2 separate regions of the Homo sapiens genome follow, and region 2 is linked to region 1. The links are contacts of gene promoters, found by promoter capture Hi-C in human tissues and cell types (Jung and others, 2019). All regions are on one chromosome and are shown on one strand. The core of a region is centred on a gene start or on the middle of the fragment in contact, and the rest is flanking DNA. Distances in the headings are between cores, read along the strand shown.

Region 1 (6,988 bases), core at 4,118-6,617:
ATCCACCGTGCCTGGCCATAGTCCTCATTAGGAAAAAAAAAAAAAAAAGCAGCATTGGGGGTTGGTTTGATCATCGCCAAGGGCCTCCACAGTTTCAAGATGGCATGCCTCAATGATCCCAGGTACCAGGAAACATGACCTCTCTCCTTAGCATCCAGACATTTCCCTGAGACGCTTTTCCCATAGGCACAGACTCTGACAGAGTATCTGTGGAGTGAATGATGAGACTTTTGGGCACTCCTGGCCTTGGGAAGTTGGCCTGACATGGTCTGACTTCAGGGCCATCAAAGCACTGTCTTGAGGGACTGCTCTGACCAGTCACAGCTGAGTGACAGAGATTAAGTTGGAGCCAGCTTCCCTGTGCAATGGTGAGTGAGCCTACAAGAAAGACATTTCCTACAGGAGACGCCTGGCTTCCTCTGGACATGGAAGCTGCCCTCCTATGGTGAGTGTGAGAAGGGGCACCCAATGTGCTTCCTCTTGGGGTGCAGCGGTGTGGCCGGCCCAGGTATGTGGAAGAGCTGCTCCTTGTTCTTTCACTTAGAGAAGTCTTTGTCGGTTCTGTTAGCCAGGGTTCTCTAGAGGGACAGAACTAATAGGATAGATGTATATATAAAGGGGAGTTTATTTTATTTTATTTTATTTTTTATTTTTTTTGAGACGGAGTTTTGCTCTTGTTGCCTAGGCTGGAGTGCAGTGGAACAATCTCAGCTCACTGCAACCTCCGCCTCCCAGGTTCAAGTGATTTTCCTGCCACAGCCTCCCAAGTAGCTGGGATTACAGGTGTACACCACCATGCCTGGCTAATTTTTTGTATTTAATAGAGCTGGGGTTTCACCATGTTGGTCAGGCTGGTCTTGAACTCCTGACCTCAGGTGATCCACCCGTCTCGGCCTCCCAAAGTGCTGGGATTACAGGCATGAGCCACCGTGCCCAGACTAAAGGGGAGTTTATTAAGGAATATTGACTCACATGATCACAAGGTGAGGTTTCACAATAGACTTCAAGCTGAGAAGCAAGGAAGCCAGTCCGAGTCCCAAAGCTGAAGAACTTGGAGTCCGATGTTCCAGGGCAGGAAGCATTCAGCCCCAGGGGAAAGATGGAGGCCAGAAAACTGAACCAGTCTAGTCTTTCCATATTCTGCCTGCTTTTATTCTGGCTGTGCTGGCAGCTGATTAGACGGTGCCTACCCAGATTGAGGGTGGGTCTGCCAGTCCACTGACTCGAATGTTAATCTCCTTTGGCAACGCCCTCACAGACACACCCAGGAACAATACTTTGCATCCTTCAATCCAATCAAGTTGATACTCAGTATTAACCATCACAGTTGATATAGCTGCTATGAAGAAGTTTTTCTTATCATCTGAAACTCTTTGAGCAGCAAAATTCTGCTTAGCATCCTAAGCTGCATTGAGAATTAAGCTTGGCAGCATAGATGGAGTAAGGCTGTCATGATCTTATACACGCTGTCACAGTCTCTGCATGTATGGTGAAGTTCCAGGTGCCTGACACACGATGTGCTCCACCCTGGTGACATGTCCACCCCAGTGCAACTCCAGCCTCCTGTGCCTATGTTTAGAGGCACAGTGTCCCTTCCAATGAAGGGCTGCCTTCTTTCTCTATTCAAAAGAGGCCGTATCAGTTTGATTTATCTTTCTATAAGTCTGATCATGAATAACTTAAAACCCTGAATACCAGTATTTTTCAAGAAAGACAAATCCAATTTCAGGGTCAGCATCAATTTATGAGAATAGCAAGTGCAGAGGCATCATCAGAATCCCCTATGGATCTAAAATAACTGTCCGTGCTTGGCCCCACACCTGGAGATCCTGATGGAGTAGATCTAGAGTGGGCATAGGCATCTGTGTTTTATTTTCTTTATTTATTTTTTTTGGGACAAAGTCTCACTCTGTCACTCAGGCTGGAGTGCAGCAGTGTGAACACTTGGGTTGTCATCATGTTGCCCCGGCTGGTTTCAAATTCCTGGGCTCTCATCATGTTGCCCAGGCTGGTTTCAAACTCCTGGGCTCAAGTGATCCTCCTGCCTTAGCCTCCCAAAGTTCTGGGAGTACAGGCGTGAGCCACTGCACCCAGCCACATCTGTATTTTAAAAAGTCCCATAGATAAAACCCACATATCCATTGCAGGAGACTGGATACACAAAGTGTGGCTTATCCATGCAATAGAGAGCTAGCTGCTCAACAATAAAAAATAAAAAAGCTGTTGATACATGCAACAACACAGAGGAATCTTCTAGACATCAGGGTAAGTGAAAAAAGCCAGTCACCAAAGAATACATAGTGTAAAATTCCACTTATATGAAGTTCAGAAAAGGGCAAAACTAATACATGGTATTAGAAATCAAAATTGTAGTTTACACTGAATGGGGGGAGTGGGATTGACAACAAAGGGACACAAGAAAACTTCCTGGTGGTGATGAAAATACTCTGTACCTCATTTTACGTGACGGTCTATGTGGATACACACAATCTCAAAAGTAACAAACTGGCTGGGTGCAGTGGCTCACACCTGTAATTTCAGCCTTTGGGAGGCCAAGGCCAGAGGATTTCGTAAAGACAAGAGTTTGAGACCAGCATGGACAACATAGCAACACCCAATGGCTACAAAAAATAAAAAATTTGCCAGATGTGGTGGCATGTGCTAACCACCACAAGTCCTAACTACTTGGGAAGCTGAGGCAGAAGGATCACTTGAGCCTAGGAGTTCAAGTTAATAGTGAGCTACGACCACACCACTGCACTCCAGCCAGGGCAAGAGTGAGACCCTGTCAAAAAAACAAAACAAAACAAAACAAACAAACAAAAAAATAAAAAAACACCAAAAAACCTTCACAAATGAAACCCTTGAGAGATATGCATTTTATTGTCTATAATTTATAACTCATTTAAATAAAATGGCCTAACTTCCCCTTTAGACCCCAAGCCAGAGTCTTGCATGGGTGCCAAGGAGTGGCCTAATCAGTTCAGCCCAGCCATAGACTCAAGAAAGGAAACATTTTCCTGTTCCCTGCCTTATATTATACAATCCCCCATTTTAATTTACTTTCCAGCATTTCCCTCACGCTTTCTCTGTCTTTTGGATTAAAAAAAAAACAAAAACAAAAACCCAGGAAACCCAGCATAGAACAACCAGCTCAATAATGAATCCATTTGTCTCCACACACTGTGCCCCTCTCCTGTCTCCATTTCAGCAGCCACATCCACATTCTTGGAAGAAGTTCCCCTGCTTCCAGGCTACTTCAAGGTGCATGATGTTGATTGAGCATCTACTATGTGCCAGACCTTGTTGACCCCTTTATTAAGGCTACTTCCTTTTCTTTTCAAAATAATCCTGAGAAGTAGATGTTTTTACTGCCCCCCATTTCCAGATTAGTGATCAATAAAGGGAAGTAATATAATGTCCAAAAGTGATATTTTAGTTTGATCCAGGTGCCATAGCAAAACATCATCAACAGCAGAAGTTTATTTCTCTCACTTCTTGAGGCTGGGAGGTCCAAGATGAAGCAGCAGCAGACTCAGTATTTGGGGAGGGCCTAGTTCCTGTTCATAGGCCGATGCCTTCTTGATTAAGTCTCACTTGGTGGAAGGACCTAGCTGACTCTCTGGCATCTCTTTTATAAGACCACAAATCCCATTTTACTCTCATGAAGCCATGAAGTCACCTCCTAAAGTCCCCACCTCCTAATACCATCACCTTGGGAGTTAGGATTTTATCCTATGAATTTGGGGGTGGGAACACACACATTTAGACCGCAGCAGGTGACATTAGGTTAAGTGGAGGAGGCAGGGTTGGAACAGTCATTGCAAAACCTCTTAGAATTTAAGACCCCTTTCCTTCCAAGGCCTGAAAGGCAGACAGGCGTTGGAGATACAGGTGAATATAAAAGGGGCAGAGCTCCTCCCTTGACCATGTATTTCATGCCCAGTCGCTAGAATTCAAGTCAACCAAGCCCTCACACACCCGGGCCGTCCCATGTTCTCTGGCTCACCTCTTCTGGTAGCTTAGAAGTGGCAGCCTCAGGGAGGCTTCTGTTTGGTAGAACTTAGAAGGAAGCATGTGGGAAATGCAGATGTCTTTGCTTTTAGGATTCTGGCTCCCTGAGATCAGAGGAGTGGGTTCCCGTACGGGGGTGGCGAGGCACAGGGAGAAGCATTGGAGCAGACTCTGTGTGTGTGTGTGTGTGTGTGTGTGTGTGTGTGTGTGTGTCGGCGCGCCTGTGCGTGGAGGGGGATAACTGTACCCAGCGCGAGGCACTGGGGGAGGAGGAAGCGGTAGCAGAGATCTGAATAATTGATTCTTCAGCCGCACCAGACGCCCGGGAGCGGGCGGAGAGCGTGGTTCCAACACCACGGACAGCAGCGCGCGCCGCCGCAGGCGCCCCCGTCGCCAGCCAGCCACCTATCCTGGCCTTATTTGCCGCCGTGCGCTCTCGGAACGGGTGGCCGCGCTCCGCGTCGCCGCCGAGGGACTGCGGGGTCTGTCTCGACCCACCTAGGAGAGAGGCTGCGGGCAGGAGACGCTTTCGCCCGCCGGAGCTCGAAGCCTCTTGGGCTTGAGCGGGGGCTACTGCGTCTCGCCGGCTGAGAACAAGTCCCTAAGTTGGTGTGGAGGGCGCCGCTACCTTCCTTCTCCTCTTCCTCGGAGGCGACCGCAGCAGAAAGACGCCCCGGGAACCCGGCTTTGCCAGTGCTGTGAACCAGGGTGTCCAGGCGCTCACCGGACTCCCGCTGGGAAGTGGGGAGCCGAACGCCCGGCGCGGAGCTGGCCCAGCAGCGAAGGGCCCGGAGGGAGCTGCCTTTCCCCGCCCGCGCCTCTCTCGGCCGGGGACCGCGGGGATCCCCGGCCACACGCGAGCGCGCTCCCACACTCACACACACACTCGCCCTCAAACACACCAGCCCGGAGCTGGGTTGCGGAGAGGGTGCTCCGGCGCGCTCAGAGGACCGGGCAGTTGCCGTCCGGAGTGGGGCAGGAAGCGGAGCTAGGGATCTTGGAGGGGAGCTCCTAGGGCTTGGCCGGATCATGGGACCGGGTGAGCGCTGAGAATCGCGGCCGCAGCCATCAGCCCTGGAGATGACCAGGAGCGGCCACTGCTGAGAACTATGTGGAGAGAGGCTGCGGTGAGTGCTAGCGCGGGACGCCGGGCCTGGGAGGCCCCCTTGGGAAGGGGGGAGGTGGGAGGCCTGAAGAGGGAGGAAGCGGCAGGATCACAAGAGGGTCGCTGCGTGGGAAAGATCCACCTCCCTCGGGGAACCGGGACCGCGGGAGCCCGCGTCCTTCCCTCCCCCTCTCCTACTGCTGGCTCGTCACAAACTCAGCCAGCGCCCCCCCACCCTCGTTACCTCCTCTTTCTCTCCCTACCTCCCTCGCTCAGCAGCTCCCGGTCGCACAACTCCCAGCAGCCGGCGCTGGGGAGGTGGTAGGGGGTGCGGGTGGAGGTGCCCAGTTAGCTTCTCGTGGGTGGCCAACCTGGGGCTCCCATTCTCCTGTGCACCCTGGAGTGGAGCTCCCGCTATCAGCCACAGGGGCTGAGGATCCGCACTGGGGGCGTCGTGGGCATCGGGCTTCAGCTTCCCCCCTCTTGTCTAGCCCCCCTGGGCGCATAGGGGGGCTTGTGAGCACTGCAGACTGCAGCCTTCCCCTCAACCCTCCCTCCCCTCGTTGGTGGGCTGACCCTGCCTCTCCTTCTCTCCTCCGCCCCGTTAGAGCCCTGCTGCAGAGCCTCCGGCTGGGATAGCCGCCCCCCGTGGGGGCGATGCGGACAGCGCGGGACAGCCAGGGGAGCGCGCTGGGGCCGCAGCATGCGGGAACCCGCTAAACCCGGTGGCTGCTGAGGCGGCCGAGATGCTCGTGCGCGCAGCGCGCCCCACTGCATCCTCGACCTTCTCGGGCTACAGGTACGTCCCAGAGGGAGATCAGGGCTCCTTGGGCCGGGGAGGAGGGAGACTCGACCGGAGGGAGAGCGGGAGAGGGATCAGGCTAGAGAGGGAGAGGGAAAGCGGGAGGGAGCCCAGCGGCGAAGTGCAGGAGGGGCACCAGGGGGCGCTGCGGCTCCGCGCTCCGCGGCGCTTACCCAGGAACGTCGAGGCCTCTTGGAGTTCGCCTCAACTTCCCCCGGCTCCAGCAGCGTCCGTCCCGAGAGGCGCGCGTCAGGGCACGCGTGCACGACCGTGCTGGTATTTGCAGGTACGCAGGGCTGTGCACCTGCCGCAGTTCATGCGTGTGCACCACCTGAGGACATGTGAGGACTCCGGCTGGCCGTGGGCACCGCTACAGCAGTCTGAGGAAGTGCGCAGAAAAGCGCGCGTGCCTATGAGCGTGTGCGGCCCACTGCCCACGTGCACCTAGGACTTGGCAACAGCGCCCGCAGTAGAAAGGCTAGGGAGGGGCTGTACAGTCCACGTCCGTCTGGGAGCTTCTTGGGAGCCTACCTTTCCCCCTACGCACGTTCTTTGCCAGCTCCTACGCGCTGGCCCGCGGGGGGACGCGCCTACTCTCCAGAATTCAGCATTGCACACGGCGCGCGTGAGAGAGGGTGTGTGTGTGTGAACATGTGTGTGTGCGTGTGTGTGTGCACGTGTGTGTGCACGCGCGCGTGTAGGGGTGAAGGACTCTCCACGGCCCCTTGGCTCGAGGTGGGGCGAGCCCCAAGTTCCCCAGGCACAGCGGAGCCTGGGCCCACCAGGCAGCGTCCTCACTCCCAAGCACTTGGGGTGTACTCTGACTGAGAGGAGCCGGGTCTGTAGTTGGGGCTGGGCGTAGAGCAAAGTGTGTGGTGCACACGACGGGCTCGTAGGGGGCGGGGTCAGCCAACTAGCTGAGCTCTCAAGCTGGGACGCGGGGTCTGGGTGCCGCCTCCGCACGCCCTGCGGGGTCTGTAGTTCGCTCCGCGCCAGCAGGGGGCGGGGTTGATAACTTGGTCCTCTCTATCCCAGGTGGGAGGGGTTGGATGGAGGGTTTATTCTGT
Region 2 (6,988 bases), core at 2,576-5,075, 1.1 Mb after region 1:
GACAGGGCCTGAGGACAGGTCAGGCAGGCCAATGTGGCAGAAGAGAAGCCAAGGTAAGGAGAAGCTCTAGAAAAGGGATGAACAGAGGACCAATGAGAATGGCAGGCAGAGATCCACAAAGTGATCCAGAAGATTTCTGGTCTCAAGTATGCTGTTTACATAAAAACGAGTTACCAGTTGTTGGTATTAATTCAACTCTTGGGAAATTTATAATAATGTTATTTTATAACATTATTATAGGATAACAAAGCAAGACAGAAATCAATTTAGCACATGCATGTTTATCTCTTTAATTCCTCTGTGAATCTAACATACAGATGACTAGGTCCCATAGGACACAGGAAAAAAAGCAACATGTTGCGAACAAGTGTCAAAATAAAGCACTGAATTAGTCTTTAAGCCTTGCTAACCACTAATTGAAGTAGCTTTGATAAAAACTATTTGAGGCCAGCACAGTGGCTCACACCTGCAATCCCACCACTTAGGGGCAAGCAGTGAGGCTAAGGCAGATCACTTGAGGTCAGGTGTTCAAGACCAGCTTCGCCAACATGATGAAACCCCATCTCTACTACAAATACAAAAATTAGCTGGGCGTGGTGGCAGGCGCCTACAATCCCAGCTACTCGGGAGACTGAGGCACGAGAATCATTTGAACCCAGGAGGCGGAAGTCGCAGTGAGCACTACACTCCAGCCTGGGCTATAGAGCGACACTCAGTCTCAAAAAAAAAAAAAAAAACCTATTTGATAACCATAAATTGATATGCCTTACTTTTTTTTCTTTAAATAGGGAGAGGGTTTCACCATGTTGGCCAGGGTGGTCTCAAACTCCTGACCTCAAGTGATCCACCCACCTTGGCCTCCCAAAGTGCCGGCATTATAGGTGTGAGCCACAGCACCCGGCCAATTGATATACTTTTGATTAAAGCTGTTTACATTAGTCTCTCCCACTAAACTGGGTTCCCAGGCTTACAAGGGCAATGACTGGGGATCTCATTCATTGTCATACTCTGTCTACACGAAATATTCAGCAGGTGTCAAGTCTGCCATTTTCCTTTAAATTAAGAACACAGTTATTTGGTTGGGCTGTATTTGATGGGGGTAGGGGTAAGGAAGGGGAAAAAAACTGAGGGAAAACTGTCCTCTCTTAAATACATAGGACATGAAGAGGAACTGAGTTTGCTTTCATTATAAACTCAAGCCTGCCTCAAAATACCAGATTCTTTTCCCATGTCCTTGTGCTTGCCAAACGCATGAATTTAGACTCACCCACAATGTAAAACTCCAAAACCTTCAATTTGGCCTAACTTAGAATTCATAAATTTGGCTAAGCAAATAATATGCAAGAGTGAATTGTGACATTGTATTTACCCTAACTATGGTGTTTCCAAATACATTTTAAAAGAGCACCTTAACAGTTTTCACTTCAGACAAATCAGATAATAAGGACACCCAGTTGAAGTCACTAATCTATGTTACTAGTTAATAATGGCCCTAGTACTAGAACCATTCAAATTACTTTCTTTAAATATTCAAATTAAACTACCATTCTCCTTAATACACTGATGTTCTCACAAACCAGTACAGCACAACTCAGTATAATTTATGTTTCTGTAGATTCTTTCAAGGGGCCCTATTACTTCACCACAACACTGTCTTAACCACATGAATTAGAGGTATGAACCCTAAGAGTAAGAATGCATTCAGTCTCCAATCTATACTGGATTAGTGCTACATTATAAATTTATTGAAGGTAAAGATCATTTTCTTCCTAGACAAAGCCTTATATTTAAGTTTTAAAGCCTCACAACTTAAACATGTGAAAATTATAAACAGTCCCTTCAACTGTATCATTGCTTAAAACTCCCAAAGTTCAGGAAAACAATAAATCACAGGTGGAACAGATTCAATATGAGAAAATGTAGTGGGAGTTGGAGAATACAGTTTTTCGAGGGCAGAGGGGGCTGGCTTGCCCTTTTTACTATTATGTACACTACTACTACGTTAAGATAACAAGCATGGTTTTTATGTTTCTTAAAACTATCTTCTAAAATATAACAGTAAAACAGAGTAAAAAGATACCTTAAGAGAAGCATGGAATGACCCACAACCCTCTTAATAAAGGAAGAAAATCACAATACTTAAGGAGAGACAACTGCATCAAATATTACCATGCGCTAAAATTAATCTAACAAACTATGTACACCTCTAGTTAATTGTTTTCCCAAACTTTAGGGGGAAAGATGTGAAACTCTCTAATTCAGCATAAACAGATCAATCCCATTTTTGCCTGAGCTTCCAAAGTTCTGACAGCCTAACTATTCCACTGTGTCAGGAACAGTGTGCAGTCTTAAAGTACTGCATCCACACAACCTGAACTTTCCTGCAATTCATGTTTTTGTTTTTAATTGTCCTAAACACTATCAAGGGAAAAAACAACATTGGGGTTTCAGGAAAGAACTACGGTTTGCCAGAGAGAACAAGATCTCTACAGGTATTATAAAGTCTCAATGATTCAACGTCTATAAAGTTTCTTTATATGCCACTATTTCTTAGTACCTTACCAGGTTACTTTGTTTTAGATGACCTGTACTATGGCCCAAAAATGTTAACTTTCAACAAGACTCATGGCCAGGCGCAGTGGCTCACACCTGTAATCCCAACACTTTGGGAGGCCAAGGTGGGCGGATCACCTGAGGTTGGGAGTTCGAGACCAGCCTGACCAACACGGTGAAACCCTGTCTCTAAAAAATTAGCCGGCGTGGTGGCACATGCCTGTAATCCCAGCTACTCGGGAGGCTGAGGCAGGAGAATCGCTTGAACCCAGAGGTAGAGGTCGCGGTGAGCCAATATCGCGCCAATGCACTCCAGCCTGGGCCACAAGAGCGAAACTCCGTCTCCAAAAAAAAAAAAAAAAGAAAAAAAGGATTCATGACCTAATTACTTCTACCTGCTTAGCCATCTGCGTGATCCATCTTTCCATCATGGTTTCAAGCAAGTCTTATTATTCTGTTGCTTTTTTTCCTACAGCAGTATTCAATGCTGTCACACAGGTTAACTCTCCCAGCTCTATTTGGAAGTCTGTATTAGACAGCAACAAGCAACAACAGACTTATCACTGACTACATTTCCCGGGTTTCTCCAGCAATACTAAAATCCCTTAGCCAAGAGTGCCTTCTTATGACAGGTCTGGCCTGGGGAGATAGAGATCCACCTGCCCACTGGCTGCACTCTGCTGGTCCTGCCTCTTAAAGTGCAAGGGACCTGAGGGACGACAGGCAGAAGGTCAAGTCTTACATCCATCCTCTCCCACCATCTACAGCAAACCAAGTAAGAAAGGTGTCAAGGGAGGTCCCAGGTCCCATGAGAACTAACCCAACAATTTCCCACCTTACTTGCCTGTCATGGACCATTAGAAATATAACAGAATTCTTAAGACACAAGAACTTCCTCTTTGACTTCAGAAGAGGAAAAAAACACGTACAACACATAAGTGTAAAGCGATAAATTCTAATCAACACTGCAGAAAGATATGTCATTTTAACACCAATAAGCTCAAACTAACTTTCTAAAAACATTTTCTAGGATAGGTTAGCTGACAGAAATCGCCCATATTAAGTTCTTAGCTTACATTCTATTAAACATTTCTAGAGCAAGCTGTTTACTGTAAGACAAAAAACAGTATATCTGGACCTAAACCTAACCGTGAAAAATGGGTCCACAGGCACCCTCTTAACCATTTTTCCAAAGAAATATGTTTAAACGGCTTTACCATGCAGAGCTATGGCTTCCCGGAAGGGTTGCAAATCAGTCTCTACAGATGAGCTAGTTTCCGTTGAAGTAGCTCGGTTAGGGGACACTACAGTCAGTCTTGGGGGAGCTCTAGAGTTTCGTGGTGGAGGAACTTTTCCACACAGGAAGCTGATCAAATCTTCTCGACGAATAGTTCTTCTGCGTTTTTTAACCCAAGCCAACACATCCTTATTGCGTCGCTGATAGCCAATCTGAATTCCAATATCAAAACTTCGTTGATGGGTATCCACGCTTTCTGTTAGAAAAAAAGAAAAAGAAAACATGTATCATGACCATTAGAGCCCGTATTCCCTTCTAAAGAAAACCATTTTACAATTTAACCAAAGTGAATACCATGATGTGGCCTCTGAGCCCATCAGTAATATAAACTGAAATGATTTCAGTCATAATGAAAATGTTATATGTAACATTTAATCTTAATGGTCTAAATTCAGTGTTTACTTATCACAGTCCTGGAGCTTGGCTTGTTAAAAAAAAAAATTTAACAGAAACAGAGAGATTAGGTATCTTTAATGAAATTACCTAAAATAACTTGCATCACATCATTCAACAGATGTCTAAATATTGCACATGCCTCAGGCCACGCTCATCTGCATTTACCACGTCATTGTGGAGATACATTCCTACTGACAGATTCAGCACCAAGAATGAGGAACAAGCTGAAGGCAGCAGCAAATGTTTTAGAAGGAAAAATTAATTCTGACTGATGGCTCAACACTAAAACCAAATAGCATGGTGGAAAACAAAAAGCTTTATTCATTTCCCTGGGTATACTCATTTTGCTTCCAGTTCTCAACAGCTTCCTGTAACTCAACCATTCCCAACAGATCTCCTAGACTAAATTCTCTGCATATACTCCACCTGGGTTTTGGTAAAATGATCTCTACCTTTTAGTGGTTTCATTTAGTTGAAAAAAAATTTGAAAATTTAAGTGACTATTATTTAGTTTTAATTGAGCTGCTGTGCCAGCAGAACATCACCAGTATGTCTTTAATGGCATTAACCAACATCGTTACTTTATCCTTGAACTTTCCGTAAAAGCAACAATACTGTGTACATTTCTCTATTACTTTTCCCGGCTTTGATTATTTCGTTTTATTTTATTTTTTGAGACGGAGTCTCTCTGTTGCCCAGGCTGTAGTGCGATGGCTCGATCTCAGCTCACTGCAACCTCCGCCTCCAGGGTTCTCCTGCTTCAGCCTCCTGAGTAGCTGGGATTACAGGCGCACGCCACCATGCCTGGCTAATTTTTCTATTTTTAGTAGAGACCGGGTTTCACCATATTGGTCAGGCTGGTCTTCAACTCCTGACCTTGTGATCCGCCTGCCTCAGCCTCCCAAAGTGCTGGGGATTACAGGCGTGAGCCACTGCAACCGGCGGCTTTAATTTCTTGTCTGCTACATCTACAGCAGACTCTCAAAGGATGGGCAATAGTCAAACAATGTAAAGCTATGTTCCAGAAAAAAAAAAAAAAAATCATCCAGACATCACAGAGGATGCCAAGCTGAATTTGCACTATTAAAGAAAATGGCAAGAGGGAAGCACAACAACCAGAACTTTATAATAAGGCCTACTCTTAAGCAGATGACAGTCTTTATTGCTAAAGACAAAGAAAAACAAGGATATTGTCCACAGATCTTTTCTCTTAAAAAAATAATCAAAGTAGGACCTGGGATGTTAAAAAGAAAGAAAAAATACTTTAAAATGAAAAGGACCAGGACAAGAATTCAACATCAATTTGGAAACCTGATATGCTATAGAGTGCATTCATATCTTCTCCATCACAACTCTGAGAAGGTGGATTATTCTAATTTTACAAATATAAAAAGCAGCTCAAGAGTGAAGTAACTTCTCCAGTGTCTCACTACTGGTATAACATGAATCAATAATTTTGATTTCTCACTTCTTCATAAACAAAGCATGAACTCCATTTTGAATGTAAATAACAGTAGAGAGGGTCACCACTTTTCCCATCTCTTTAGGAAAAGATTTAGATGAGCCAACCCTAAAGGGGTGGACAAACCTAAAGATGACCTTGTAGTGCTGTACCTAAAACTTAAATGATTCTGAAAGAGCTGGAGGCATTAAGAGAAATCAAGTCATTGACCAACTAAACTTATCACACCACATAAAGGATAAATGTAAAATGTGTTAACCTAGAAGCAATCAGGTTTTTAAACCTATCCTACCTAGAAGAATTGCTTTTAATCAAGCTTGTAAATGAAGAAGTTTCTGTTTCTGAAGAGAATGAGGGTATTTTATTCTTCAAAAGCCAAATGGAGGTAAGCCCAGCCCTGCAGAAACAGAGGAAAAAAAGTCTAAAGCATAGTAAAAGGGATACAAGAAACAAGTCTGAAGCAGGCTTGGAGAGTGCAAAGAAAGATGGCCAGGCATGGTGGCTCATGCCTGTAATCCTAGCACTTTGGGAGGCCAAGGTGGGTGGATCACCTGAAGTCAGGAGTTCGAGACCAGCCTGGCCAAGATGGCAAAACCCCGCCTCTACTAAAAATACAAAAATTAGCCAGGCATGGGTGGTAGGCACCTGTAATCCCAGCTACTCGGGAGGCTGAGGCAGGAGAATCACTTGAACCTGGGAAGCAGAGGTGGCAGTGAGCCAAGAATGCGCCACTTCACTCCAGCCTGGGCGAAAGAGTAAGACTCTCTCTCAAAAAAAAAAGATGAAGTAAGCATGTAAACATACACCTGGCAAACCAGACAGCAAAAAAAGAGAAGCTAAACTTGATACAAAACTCAAGGGCCAAAAGGAAGGGGCCACGTGAGGTGTTTAAAAAAAAAAAAAATATCCTGTGAAGAGCTTGGCCAAGTTTTGGGTTGTTTTGATTGAAGACACAAGAAGTCCAACAGTCAGATCTGCAAGGGACTAATGGTTTCATCACAGATTTGAACATCGGGAAAACTCAGTAATCACTAGTGGCCTGGCTTAGATGTAAGACACTTATGTAACAAGTTGTGAACCTCTTTTAAAAAATTATGCAACTGACCAATTATTTCACCTCAAAAATTCTGAGATAACCAAGTCTCAATGTCAGAACCCACTATGAGCACACTAGAAGTCATGCATTTTGCAAACACTACCCTTACAGACTAGAAGGTCCTAGAGGAGAAAAGCAGAAACAACATTTAAGGTTTTAGGTATGTTTTTGCTCCACCGGGGCA

Evidence for each region. Contacts are between HindIII fragments. The study calls those that stand out against the background at their distance.
Region 2: a contact is called between a fragment that was not itself captured here and the fragment with the promoter of GRIN2A in region 1, in 1 of the 25 tissues and cell types used here (dorsolateral prefrontal cortex).

The regions. Positions count from the first base shown.
Region 1 is chr16:10,180,807-10,187,794 of GRCh38, reverse strand. It overlaps GRIN2A (glutamate ionotropic receptor NMDA type subunit 2A), which reads left to right and starts at 5,367. Exons shown (of 13, transcript NM_001134407.3): 1 at 5,367-5,918. RefSeq lists silencers at 6,100-6,159, 6,170-6,279. The HindIII fragment of the contact is 17,773 bases long and covers 1-6,988 here.
Region 2 is chr16:9,100,042-9,107,029 of GRCh38, reverse strand. It overlaps HAPSTR1 (HUWE1 associated protein modifying stress responses), which reads right to left. Exons shown (of 4, transcript NM_014117.3): 3 at 3,771-4,046. Among named protein-coding and RNA genes, the nearest start is that of HAPSTR1, 12 kb to the right of the region's middle. The HindIII fragment of the contact is 7,617 bases long and covers 17-6,988 here.